Linked DNA regions of Homo sapiens: regions 1, 2 and 3 are each linked to region 4. The links are contacts of gene promoters, found by promoter capture Hi-C in blood cells and fetal thymus (Javierre and others, 2016). All regions are on one chromosome and are shown on one strand. Each heading gives the region's core, a stretch centred on a gene start or on the middle of the fragment in contact. The rest is flanking DNA. Distances are from core to core; before and after follow the strand shown. Region 1 holds the start of OR10Q1 (olfactory receptor family 10 subfamily Q member 1). Region 2 holds the start of OR1S2 (olfactory receptor family 1 subfamily S member 2). Region 3 holds the start of OR10W1 (olfactory receptor family 10 subfamily W member 1). Region 4 holds the start of OR5B2 (olfactory receptor family 5 subfamily B member 2).

Region 1 (3,312 bases), core at 582-3,081, 200 kb after region 4:
ATCAGTTTTTCTATTATATAAATTGTGGTTTTAAATATACATAATTATTTTAGTTTTCATATTTTATATTATGCACATCTTTAAAAATTATTCTCAGCAATTCTTTTTTGCTTTTAACAATATTTGCACTATTTAATATTAAATACATATTTTATTATTTGCTTTTCCAAAGCATATTATTTTACATTACAACTTTCCCAACCTTAAAGTATATGTTCTGATTACTCTGATTAATCATGCAGCAACTCATAGTCTTTGTTGAGGGATTTTTAAAATTATATTTAGAATGAAATAATTCCTAAGCCCTTCCAAATCTGAGAAAGTCTTTCTGTTGCTTTTGAACATAAATCACTAAGGCTTTGATACAGAATTCTTTCACTCCAATTTGTTTTTCTTAAAATTCTGTAGATATTTTGTATTGTCTCTTAAATTTTTGTATTAAAAATAAAGTTGTAGTCTAACCTGAAAGTGCTTAATTCACAGGTATTTTTAACTTCCCAGATGCTTGCAAAGGTCTTTCTTATTCTCTTGATTATGTTAATGCATAATTCAATTGTGCTATTGCATTTTTAGTTTCCTCATTGTCTTTTCTTATCTCAGGAAGCTCCACTTTAATTTTAACCTGACTCTGTTCACTTCCCTTTCATTTGAAACTATTTGAGTCCAAAAGTTTAGCTTCCTGTTGGAAATTTAGATAAAATGTTCAAAAGAGAGGAAATATATGAAGAGTACATATCAGAAAAGATTGTAACAATGGGTGTTTTCCTACTTGTATGTGGAGTCAAAATAACTGAATGTAAAGTGAATAACTTATAGCCATAAAGCAATGGAAAGAACAAAGGATTGATTCAGAACAACAAGAATAACCTTTGCAGACATAATGTTGAAGCCAGTTACAATAAAGTACATGCTTTAGCATTTCATATATAAGTTGAAACATAGTTACATCAATCTGTAATGATAAAAGTCAAAAAGTGGTTACTTTTGTGAAGCATAAAGACTGAGAACATGAAGGATGTTTGTAGGTCACTGGAATCGTTCTATTTCTTAATCTTTGTAGTGGTTATACTGGCGTATTTACGATGTTAAAATAAATAAACAAATCAAGCTTCACACTTAGGATTTGTGAATTCCTCCACATGTATGTTATATTTCAATGAGAGTGCTTACTGAAAAAAGTAAAAGACAAATTCATTTATCTAATTTTAAAATATGTGCAACCATACAACTCTTCACTGTAATTAAATACAAGCAAAATAATTAAGTCTTATCAATTGGATTGAAAATATCGGGGTGGGGGGAGATATTTCACAAGGAACATCTACATGTGTCTACATGTCTTGCCCCCAGGAATTTCTGCAGATGACTGTCTATCCCATTCATGAGGATTTCCAAGGAAAAGTATACCAAACCCTATATCGTGAATTCATTCTCATGCACCGTGATTGGAAACTAGCTACTAAATAGTTAATTCCAAATAAAATTGTACACTCCTGCTTTTACTAAAGAAATAAAGCGGCCGGGCGCGGTGGCTCACGCCTGTAATCCCAGCACTTTGGGAGGCCGAGGCGGGCGGATCACGAGGTCAGGAGATCGAGACCATCCCGGCTAAAACGGTGAAACCCGGTCTCTACTTAAAAAAATACAAAAAAATTAGCCGGGCGTAGTGGCAGGCGCCTGTAGTCCCAGCTACTTGGGAGGCTGAGGCAGGAGAATGGCGTGAACCCGGGAGGCGGAGCTTGCAGTGAGCCGAGATCCCGCCACTGCACTCCAGCCTGGGCGACAGAGCGAGACTCCGTCTCAAAAAGAAAAAAAAGAAATAAAGCAACTCAGCCAAGAAGAGCTCAGCGCGTCCTATTCTTTTGCATAAGACATGCCTGTGGGGAAACTTGTCTTCAACCAGTCTGAGCCCACTGAGTTTGTGTTCCGTGCGTTCACCACAGCCACTGAATTCCAGGTTCTTCTCTTCCTTCTCTTCCTCCTCCTCTACTTGATGATCCTCTGTGGCAACACAGCCATCATCTGGGTGGTGTGCACACACAGCACCCTCCGCACCCCGATGTATTTCTTCCTGTCCAACCTGTCTTTCCTGGAACTCTGCTACACCACCGTGGTAGTACCCTTGATGCTTTCCAACATTTTGGGGGCCCAGAAGCCCATTTCGTTGGCTGGATGTGGGGCCCAAATGTTCTTCTTTGTCACCCTCGGCAGCACGGACTGTTTCCTCTTGGCGATCATGGCCTATGACCGCTATGTGGCTATCTGCCACCCGCTGCACTACACCCTCATCATGACCCGCGAGCTGTGCACGCAGATGCTGGGTGGGGCCCTGGGCCTGGCCCTCTTCCCCTCCCTGCAGCTCACCGCCTTAATCTTCACCCTGCCCTTTTGCGGCCACCACCAGGAAATCAACCACTTCCTCTGCGATGTGCCTCCCGTCCTGCGCCTGGCCTGCGCTGACATCCGCGTGCACCAGGCTGTCCTCTATGTCGTGAGCATCCTCGTGCTGACCATCCCCTTCCTGCTCATCTGCGTCTCCTACGTGTTCATCACCTGTGCCATCCTGAGCATCCGTTCTGCCGAGGGCCGCCGCCGGGCCTTCTCCACCTGCTCCTTCCACCTCACCGTGGTCCTGCTGCAGTATGGCTGCTGCAGCCTCGTGTACCTGCGTCCTCGGTCCAGCACCTCAGAGGATGAGGACAGCCAAATCGCGTTGGTCTACACCTTTGTCACCCCCTTACTCAACCCTTTGCTTTACAGCCTTAGGAACAAGGATGTCAAAGGTGCTCTGAGGAGTGCCATTATCCGTAAAGCAGCCTCTGACGCCAACTGAAGGCTTAGGGGCACTGGGCTGGGTGTCTGTCTGTTGCTGTGTCAAAGAACTCTAAATGACACAGAACTGTAGTACTTTCTCACACTGTGCACTTGATGTTTCTTTTTTGCCATATTTGCCCCAAGTTCACAATTCATGCTCATTTTTCTGAAGTGCTTTGACTAAGATATGAAAATTTGGACAGAACTTACAGCGTAGGAATGCTAGTTTACTTAGCTCTACTTTAAGGATTTGCAGCTCACCTATGTCAATTGCCATATTAGGAACACCCCATACATACTGTGAATAAAGGCTGATAGGCATGCTGCCTCCTGGGGAGATGATGTAATTTACCCTGTGAAAGTTGCCTTAAGTAAGGAATATTCATAAAGACATATTTTGCTCAAATAAACACATTTTATTATTGTTTTGGGTATCAGTATATGACAAACAATAGCTTACTTAATGCATTAATTTCCTTTGCACCATACATCCCAACT
Region 2 (3,551 bases), core at 137-2,636, 220 kb after region 4:
AAACCAAGTCCAGCCCAATTTTAAACTTCAGCTTCACTATCAATTCAAAGCATGGGTCCTACCTTGTAAGTTCAGATCTGATGTGTAGCTTGGGTCATACAGTGGAAAGGTGGGAGCATATGTTCTTCCCTTGCTCTTTGGCCTCTCTTCCCGCAAAACCGTTGTTGTTACTATTGTTGTTGTTGTTTTAGTCATTTTGGTCTTTCCTTCTTTTTCAGTTTTATCAGGTCAGGGAGGAAGAATGGGGATGGGAAAAAAGGCAAAAGTGTTCATATCTGTTGCCATAGATACTAGCAGCTTGTGCCTTATATGTGGCAGGCATGGTGTCTCTTGAGATCATTTTGAGGATTGTCAGAGGCTCCCTTTTGGAGACTGCCCCATTATGCGGTTCCCTGACAAGGGCAATGAATTATGTCCCTGATCTCTTTAAGATCTCTCTTTCAAAAGAGACCCACCTCATGGTTTCTTATTGCTACAGCCTCCTCTGCCCCAATAGGCTGTCTCTGGATTGGAATCTCAACAAGGTGACTTGACTCCAATGACCTCCTATAGCATCACGTGTCCTATGGGAAATTCACATATTTATGCCATGTCATGGGTGAAAATGCAGATTGCCCTACTAACCACCATCTTTTCCCTCTACCCTGCCATCACGACCTGATCCAGTGAGCCCCTCACCTTTAGAAATGAGAGGCAAACAGAAGTCTTTAAGTGTATCTGTGCCCCCTAAATTTTCTTGAAGCTAATATCTAGCCACAGATGAAGTAAAACCCTGATTGCTCCTACTTGTACTTATTCTCCAAAAGCACTTGTTTTGGAGTTCTCCCCCGGCGTTAATGGGATGAAGCACCCACACAATGGTGTACACTCCCATAGCCATTCCTAACCCTTAGTTGTGTTTCCTTCTCCAGTCTCTTCACTTTTACGAGACTTGAAATTTCTCCTTTCTTAGATTTAAGGCATAAAGTTGAACAAGGGAGATGATTTGGGGACCAGTTTGGTAACTTTTAAGTAATTCCTGCACATGTACCTAACATCTCTAGAATATAGGGTATGCCTCACCTATGATCCTCAGTTTGGGGGATTTAACCTACATTTAGAACCAACTGGGAAAATCACATTCAGAATTCTGTTAGAGTTTAAAACATGTTCATTGAGAAGAATCTGCCATGTCCTGTCTTTTTCTGTGGCATTTTCCAAATCTCTGCACTGCTGAAATACTTCCTTATTAAGTAGCACTTCCACTTAATAAGCAGAAGAAGCTTTATTGCTCATCAGCTTAAAGGAAGTGCCTTACTGTAATGGCTGCAGCCAAATGACACCATGTTAAATTTTCTTGTAGGTGTATGAAGACTTTGTGTTCCTTTCTTCAGATCAGCAGAAATATGCATCAAGAAAACCAAACCACCATCACTGAATTCATTCTCCTGGGACTCTCCAACCAGGCTGAACATCAAAACCTCCTCTTTGTGCTTTTCCTGAGTATGTATGTGGTCACTGTGGTTGGGAACGGGCTCATCATTGTGGCTATCAGCTTGGATATATACCTTCACACCCCCATGTATCTCTTCCTTGCCTACCTATCCTTTGCTGATATTTCCTCCATTTCCAACTCAGTCCCCAAAATGCTGGTGAATATTCAAACCAACAGCCAATCCATCTCTTATGAGAGCTGCATCACACAGATGTACTTTTCTATTGTGTTTGTCGTCACTGACAATTTGCTTTTGGGGACCATGGCCTTCGACCACTTTGTGGCGATCTGCCACCCTCTGAACTATACAACTTTCATGCGGGCCAGGTTCGGCACTTTGCTCACAGTCATCTCGTGGTTCCTCAGTAATATTATTGCTCTTACACACACCCTTCTGCTCATTCAATTGCTCTTCTGTGACCACAACACTCTCCCACACTTCTTCTGTGACTTGGCCCCTCTGCTCAAACTGTCCTGTTCAGATACAATGATCAATGAGCTTGTGTTGTTTATTGTGGGTTTATCAGTTATCATCTTCCCCTTTGTACTCATCTTCTTCTCCTATGTCTGCATCATCAGAGCTGTCCTGGGAGTATCATCCACACAGGGAAAGTGGAAAGCCTTCTCCACTTGTGGCTCTCACCTGACAATTGCATTACTGTTCTACGGAACCACTGTAGGCGTGTACTTTTTCCCCTCCTCCACTCACCCTGAGGACACTGATAAGATTGGTGCTGTCCTATTCACTGTGGTGACACCCATGATGAACCCCTTCATCTACAGCTTGAGGAATAAGGATATGAAAGGTGCCCTGAGAAAGCTCATCAATAGAAAAATTTCTTCCCTTTGATGCCCTGGACATCTACATTCTTTTAGTCCACATAATCAGATAAATGATTCAGCCCAGAGTGTATGACACAGTTGTGACGGTTCAACTTTTGATGAACTTGCAGATGTCTGTCTCCTATTCCAACCTCTAAGGGGATTGGAGCTTTTCCACTTAGCTCTTGTCTTGGAAACAAAATCTGTAACTGCCATGGTAAGTCACAAGAATAACACGCATCCTTAGAGAGTAGATTGGTGGTTACCAGGGCCCAGTAGCAGAGAAGTGGAGTGGAGTTGAATAGAGGTTGATTAATGGGTACAACAATACAGTTAGATAGAAGAAATAAGACCTATTGTTTGATAAATCATTATGGGGCACTATGGTAAACAGTAATCTATTATATATTTCAAAATAGCTAAAAGAGAATAATTCCAATGTTCCCAGCATAAAGAAAAGATAAATGTTTAAGGTTATGGATATCCTAATCCCCTAATTTGATTATTACACATTATATGAATGTATCAAAATATAAGATGTTCCCCATAACTATGGAGGACAATTTATCAATAAAAATACATGTATTGATAAATTAAAAATTTATGCATAAATAAAAAATTAATTTAAAAACACATCTTAATTACAATCTATATTATTATAAACTTTGGTACAAATTATTCATAACCTAGACTATCACAGGTGCATAGAGTGCCTACAGTCTAGCCTTTGTAGCTTTGAAGACAGTTATTACTACTTCTTTCTTTAATCTACATTTCTTTAGGTCAGTTTTTCTCAAAGTTTGTTTTGTTAAGGTACTATTCAGTGAGATGTTTAGTGGTTATAACAATGAAGATTCCCATGGTCAAATAATTTTTGGCAACTCTGAGTTATATGAAGCACAATGTAATAACTGGACAACTTCCAAGAACCTTCATTGTCATGTAAATCTCCAAGAGGGTAAGATGGTACACAGCATTTCTCAAGACTAAACTTGAAATAATTGAAATTCAATTATTTCCATCATACAGAACCCAATTCATCACAGTTGTTCGCGGAACTAGCATTGCACAAATATGTTTTAGGAAATATGACTCCAGATGACTTCAATTATTTCAGTGGAAAACCACAGAGTTTATGTATAAATGTATCAGTTAGAGTTCTGACTCTGTCCCCAACAGCTATGTAGTATATAGTAGACACTAAAAACAAAGTGATACTTTTTTTTAACTGCCCACCTTCCTGGCTTCCAACTCC
Region 3 (3,327 bases), core at 673-3,172, 160 kb after region 4:
ATTCAAGTATCTAATAACTGGGGATCAAATTGGCCATTTTTGAGGTCCCTTCTTGCAGTTAGAATTTATGACTTATAATAGCTCTGATGTAAATATTTTAAATATTTTATTATAGGTGGAGTGTTCAGATTACAAATATTATAGAGAGCAGTATTCAGATGATAACTATATGACATGACGGATATGCTGATTAGCCTGATTTGATCATTCCACAATGTGTATATGTATCAAAGCATCACATTGTACAATTATTATTGTCAATTAAAAACAAAATATAACTTTTTGAAAAGATGATATGAATGTAATAGACTACAATAAAATTCTCAGAAGTTGTCATTGTGACACAGATTTCAAACTGTCTCTGTATAATAATATAGATGGTAGACTAGCCTTTAGATGTGTGCCTGTTGTAGACTTCCATATGCTATGTTCTTGAATGATAGAATTATTTCCACAGTGCAGCCCAAATCTTAGATACGAAGTTGTTTTATATAAGGACTCCTAAACAAGTGATTTGATTATGAATAATCTTAAATCTTTCATTGCACGGCAAAGTGAAAGTAGAAAATGAAGAAAATGTATAAATAACATTTTCAAGCTGTATTATCCATTCGACATATAATTATTGAGTGTCTAAAATTTGCACAACATTAGGCGTGCTTATATGGGATGATCAAAATGTAAATAAAGCAGAATGGCTGCCCTTGAATTTATAAATAATAATGATGATTATCTTTTATTAGGTTGCCATTACTATGGACAGTTCATTGTGATATCTTACATTACTATTGCATTTAAACTTACAGCAATTCTTTTGTCTAAGTATAATTATTATTCCCATTTTTCAAATACAGAAATTGAGGCTTAGAGAAATTATATATTACCTAACATCATGAAGCCAGGAGCTGGAATTATTCAAACCACATCACTTCCCTTCACTGCTGATTTCACATTGATACACTGCCCCTCCTCCACATGATATAGTATAATGTGCAATATGCTAAGTGGCATTAGAAACCACTCAAAGCATTATTGAAGTTCAGCTCAGGAAAAGAGACCAACTGAAATAGATACCACTTGTTAGCTGTTGGAAAAACAGCAGAGAGCCATTTCTGCCCTAGGTGCTCTTAATATTTGTAGCTGCCTACTCATATTTTTCCCCATGCTTGTGACACTGAGGTGGGTTTGTGTGAATAATTTTTACTGGAAGTGGTGCCTCTGGGTAGAGATTTCTCTTCAAATCTCATATTCAATGACAGGAAATATTAAAATTTGGCACGTTGAAACAAGGCCACACATTACGTCTTTTCCACCTTATTTAATATGAGTTGGTCTGGGAAAAGAAGTGGAATGGATGCCCTTTGCAAATTACGTCTGTTTATTAAAAGGTTTTTGTGGAAAAGATATGGCTTCTCCCAGATTTCACATTAGCTTCTGAGAAATATGAAAAATAGATGGGCTTAGACTTTCATAATCATGCCCAAATTCACAGGAAGGCTTCTTAGATTTCCAACATCTTGGGATCACATATTTTCTCATACCTCCACCCACGCCAGGAGGAAACATATGATAAAACACCTTGTTTCCTTCAAGCCTTATACTTCTGGTCAGATAAGGATAGAAAAACCAATAGTAGACAGGGCTTTGCTTTCTGAGGCGTATCCCTGACACTGTCATACTCAGGCCTCTGTTAGCCCTTTGCTTCATGGGTAATTTTTTTTCTTTCTTCACTTCCCATCACTAGTTTTGAGAGTTACATTGACATATCACTTATTCAATACCCCAGGAGATATTGAGTGTAAATATTAGGTTGGTGCAAAAGTAATTGCAGTTTTTGCCATCAAAATGGCAAAACCGCAACTACTTTTGCACCAACCTAATAAATATGTGAATGAATAAGTGAATGAATAAATGGCTTATCTCCCTTACCTTAATGATTTCTAGCCCCAAGAATTCCTTGACACTTTCTTGTGAATTTGCTGAAAGAATTGAATTTTCATTCCACTCTTTCTGAAAATAGCTCCTGAATCCCACCCACTTCCTCTGCCATTTTTCTTCAATAGTATCTTACATAGTTTGGCCCAACTCTTGGCAGGTAGAAATTGAGGTGTAGATATTAATGTGGAGAAACTTGGTAAAAGTGGAGAAAAGAAAAAGAACTAGTCTTGATCCTTCCAGTTTCTAACTCCAGTGCTGATTACATTAGATTCATGGCTCAGAGTGTAACTTAATTTATCTTCAGTCTGATTCTTCCTTCTGTACTTGTAGCTCTCCACAGAGAAATACTGTTAGCTCAATTACCTGGGAAAATCACTCAGTGTTGATGGAATTTGTGTTCCTGGCCTATCCCTCCTGCCCAGAACTGCATATTCTGTCCTTCCTTGGGGTCAGCCTGGTTTATGGTTTGATCATCACTGGGAACATTCTCATTGTGGTGTCCATTCACACAGAAACCTGTCTATGCACATCCATGTACTATTTCCTGGGCAGCCTTTCTGGGATTGAAATATGCTACACTGCAGTGGTGGTGCCCCATATCCTGGCCAACACCCTACAGTCAGAGAAGACCATCACTCTCCTGGGCTGTGCCACCCAGATGGCTTTCTTCATTGCACTGGGCAGTGCTGATTGCTTCCTCTTGGCTGCCATGGCCTATGACCGCTATGTGGCCATTTGCCACCCGTTGCAGTACCCTCTCCTCATGACATTGACTCTTTGTGTCCACTTGGTTGTGGCATCAGTCATCAGTGGTCTGTTCCTGTCCTTACAACTGGTGGCCTTCATCTTCTCTCTGCCATTCTGCCAGGCTCAGGGCATTGAGCACTTCTTTTGTGATGTGCCACCAGTCATGCATGTTGTTTGTGCTCAGAGTCACATTCATGAGCAGTCAGTGCTGGTGGCAGCCATACTAGCCATTGCTGTGCCTTTCTTCCTCATCACCACCTCCTACACCTTCATAGTGGCTGCTCTGCTCAAGATCCACTCGGCTGCTGGCCGCCACCGGGCCTTCTCCACCTGCTCTTCCCACCTCACTGTGGTGCTGCTGCAGTATGGCTGCTGTGCCTTCATGTACCTGTGCCCCAGCTCCAGCTACAACCCCAAGCAAGATCGGTTCATCTCACTGGTGTACACATTGGGAACCCCACTGCTCAACCCACTTATCTATGCCCTGAGGAACAGTGAGATGAAAGGGGCCGTAGGGAGAGTTCTTACCAGGAACTGCCTTTCCCAGAACAGCTAGGAAAGACGAGGGGACAGCCTATCAGGCAAGTATTTGGTTCCAGCCCACCAAATCTGTATGAAACTGAGATTTCTATCATTTGGTGT
Region 4 (3,299 bases), core at 8-2,507:
TATTTTCCTGTAGTTTGTTGGGCTTATTGTATCTGGATGTGTAAATCTCTTCCCAAACTCGGGAAACTTGTTGTCAATTATTTCCTTAAATAGGGTTTCTGAACTTTTTGCTTTTTCTTCTCCCTTGGAAATACTTATACTTCATATGTTTGGTTGCTTTATGTAGTCCCATACTTCTTAAAGGCTTTGTTTGTTCTTCTTTATTCTCCTTTCTTTATTTTTGTCTGATTGAATTAATTCAAAAGACCTGTCTTCAAATTTTGAGATTCTCTTCTCTGCTCGTTCTAGTCTATTCTTAAGGCTTTCAACTGTTCTTCATAATTCTTTCAGTGAAATTTTCATTTCCAGAAGTTGTTTGTTTCTTTAAGATCTCTACCTTCTTGGTAAATTTCTAGCTCATATCAGGAATTGATTTTCTGATGTCTTTGCATTGGTATTCAGTTTTCTCTTATGTCTTATAGAACTTCTTTAAAATCAGTATTTTGAATTCTTTATCTGACATTTTGAAGATTTCTTATTGGTTCAAATCCATTGCTAGAGAATTACTGTGCTCCTTTGGAGGTGTTATAGCACTTTGTTTTTCATACTTCCAGTATTATTATCCTGATTTCTTTGCATCTGGAGAATTAGTCACTTCTATTATTGAATTTACTTTCATTGGGGTGTGACTTATTTTTCTTGGGAATGTGACTATAATGTATGCTGAGTAGGGTTATTTGGCTTTGTTTCTGGCTGTCTAAACTGGTGTAGACTCTGTATGATTTTCTTGTTTGTAAATATCCTTAGTGTACTGGTTTGGGTGTCCCAGATAATGATTTGGGCTATGGAACACACAGTGGTCCTGGTTCCATGCTTTGTATCCAAGGCAAGAGGGCAAAGCTGGGCAGTGTTGGGTTGTGCAAGTCTGCACTTGAACCCCACGATGGCATGTACAAGTGCTGGCCCTTACAAGGTTCAGAGAGCAATCCTCAGACCTCTGAAGAAACGCTCCAGCAATAAGCAGAGCAACTGCTGCTATGCCAATGACCCCATGAGGGAAAGAGTACATCCTAGGCTCCATGGCCTATCAAGGGGTAGTAAGACCCAGTTTGCTCTCATTAAACCCAGCAGGGCTCTTTCCCACAGCTGGACACTAGCAGTGCGTTGGGACAGTTAGCCAACTCAAATGCACTTTGCCTTTAGAGTGTGAAAATGCCTCAGGCTGCAAAACTTGCTACCGTGGTCAAAACCACTCCTCTCAGACTCAAACCCTCCTGGTCTTGTCCTGCAAGGTGGATTCCCAATTCCATTGTCCACAGCTGAAGCCCATGCTATTCTTGCCTCTCCATTCTGGCCATGTGGATTCCTCCTCCAATCAAGGTAAGATCACAAATCTCTGGCTAACAACTCTACAAACCAGTGACTGACACCAATGCTAGCTGGCAGGTTCCTGTGCAACCCACTATGAGTTAGCATCAGGAATGACCTCCTTCCATTGGTCCTTAAGTCTGAGAGTGCATGTGGGGTACTTCCCAGTGCTCTTCCTTCTCACAGTCCCTTGACTGTTCCCCAAGTCTGATCCAGGTTTTGGGAAACTCAAAAAGTTCCCGATAGCCTAGGTTGCCTGGCTTCCTGGTGGGTATGTGTATTGTGGAGCACTCCCCCTCTCACATATGGAGGGACTGATTCACAGTTTTCCATTTGGGCTGCTGTCTGTCTTGTTTTCAGCAGTATACAAAGTTTTCTTTCACTTTTATATTGAACAATCATGTTTCTACTTGGATGCAAATTCACAGTGTGAATCTCTACACACCACTTGCTATTTCCAAGTGAGCAAGGATTCTGGCAAAGCATCCATTCTGCTATCTCAGAAAAAAAATACTCATCTCTGTTTTATTAATGAGAGAACTGAAGTGCGTAAGTGTTTATACAACCTATAATCTCAATATGAACTTTGTGAAGTTATGCTGCCATCGGCCAACGAAACTTACATAACACTTTAGCCTAGTTTCCATTATGCCACTCATGATTCTGTCTGATTTCTGCCAGGAAAGTTAATGATGAATCTTTTCTGAAGATGTTCACATTACCAAGAAGAAATAACCCTGAGTAAAGTAAATACACTGGTGTTCTTCCTAAGAAAATGGAACCAGGCTTTCATATGCAGTTTAATTATTGCTTCTCTAGATGATTGGAGTGAGAGACTGTGGTTATTCTCATGGGTAACTTGTCCCCTGAGAACTTTATGTACGTTCAAATTCCTCAATTATTGTTAGTTCCCAGTCATTGGTCTCTAACATCCCAACATGACTCTATTTAACATCATGTTAGAGGTTCCACCCTGTGTGTCACCTTTTGGTGATCATTTATTGATCTCAGTGTAAAAGGTTGTCCATTGTACTAAGTGGCCTTATTTCACACTGGTATATTACTCTGAGTCTGCAACAATGGCCAGGGATAAGACCCCCAGCTAAAAATGATGTTCATTGCAGATACGATGATCCCTTCTTACAGCTCTTTAGGACTTTACAGAGTGCATTCAGAGACTTCTATTTTTCCTCACAGCAGCAGCCCTGTGTGACAAGTTGGAGAATATTTTCTAATCTCCACCTAGTCATTACTTTTTCCTTAAATCTCCCTCCCTCTAGAGAACTTCAATATTTGTGACTAGACATTAAATAATAACTTCTTAAATAGGAGCTTTTCTTTCTTCTTTGAGTAGGACTTGCAATTTGAAGATACCAACTGAAAGTGTGTCATCTTCCTTGAAGAGCAAGGTAAGTTTCTAGCTCTGTTCTACGGTCTGTTTAGGTTGTAGTAATAGAATATGTGTTATATAAAAGTTCAAGGGCAAACATTTTCCCATTGAGTAATCAGAGTTCAGTTTCCCAGCTTTTAATATTTTCATGCTATCACGCTATTTAGCCACAGTCCAGGTGTTACAACAATCTCCATTAATTGGGAAAATGGTGATTTTATTCAAATAATAGAAGATGGTATTATTCTCATCATTTAAAATTCATATGCTTAGAGGGCAACAGACATTGGTGCCTATCGAAGGGTGGAGGATAGGAGGAGGGAGAGGATCAGAAAAAAAATAACTAATGGGTCCCAGGCTAATACCTGAGTGATGAAATAATCTGTATAACAAACCCCCATGATGCAAATTTACCTATGTAACAAGCCTGTACATGTATCCCTGAACTTAAAATAAAAGCAAAAAAACAAAAAACAAAACCCTTATACACACAAAAAATCCATGTGCTTAGAAGAACATTTAGAAAATGATGGGCACTCTAAATACTTGTTGAGGCAATGAG

Evidence for each region. Contacts are between HindIII fragments. The CHiCAGO score rates a contact against its expected background, and 5 or more counts as called.
Region 1: a contact is called between the fragment with the promoter of OR10Q1 here and the fragment with the promoter of OR5B2 in region 4, in 15 of 17 cell types (naive CD8 T cells, total CD8 T cells, neutrophils and 12 more). The highest score is 12.0, in naive CD8 T cells.
Region 2: a contact is called between the fragment with the promoter of OR1S2 here and the fragment with the promoter of OR5B2 in region 4, in 12 of 17 cell types (M2 macrophages, neutrophils, endothelial precursors and 9 more). The highest score is 8.7, in M2 macrophages.
Region 3: a contact is called between the fragment with the promoter of OR10W1 here and the fragment with the promoter of OR5B2 in region 4, in 16 of 17 cell types (neutrophils, fetal thymus, monocytes and 13 more). The highest score is 15.9, in neutrophils.

The regions. Positions count from the first base shown.
Region 1 is chr11:58,227,437-58,230,748 of GRCh38, reverse strand. It overlaps OR10Q1 (olfactory receptor family 10 subfamily Q member 1), which reads left to right and starts at 1,831. Exons shown (of 1, transcript NM_001004471.2): 1 at 1,831-2,867. The coding sequence starts at 1,874. The coding sequence ends at 2,833. The HindIII fragment of the contact is 6,807 bases long and covers 1,111-3,312 here.
Region 2 is chr11:58,201,977-58,205,527 of GRCh38, reverse strand. It overlaps OR1S2 (olfactory receptor family 1 subfamily S member 2), which reads left to right and starts at 1,386. Exons shown (of 1, transcript NM_001004459.2): 1 at 1,386-2,324. The coding sequence starts at 1,386. The coding sequence ends at 2,324. The HindIII fragment of the contact is 6,408 bases long and covers 1,265-3,551 here.
Region 3 is chr11:58,266,855-58,270,181 of GRCh38, reverse strand. OR10W1 (olfactory receptor family 10 subfamily W member 1) reads left to right here and starts at 1,922. Exons shown (of 1, transcript NM_207374.3): 1 at 1,922-3,327. The coding sequence starts at 2,324. The coding sequence ends at 3,241. The HindIII fragment of the contact is 7,272 bases long and covers 1-3,327 here.
Region 4 is chr11:58,426,079-58,429,377 of GRCh38, reverse strand. OR5B2 (olfactory receptor family 5 subfamily B member 2) reads left to right here and starts at 1,257. Exons shown (of 3, transcript NM_001005566.3): 1 at 1,257-1,359; 2 at 2,702-2,756. The HindIII fragment of the contact is 6,968 bases long and covers 1-3,299 here.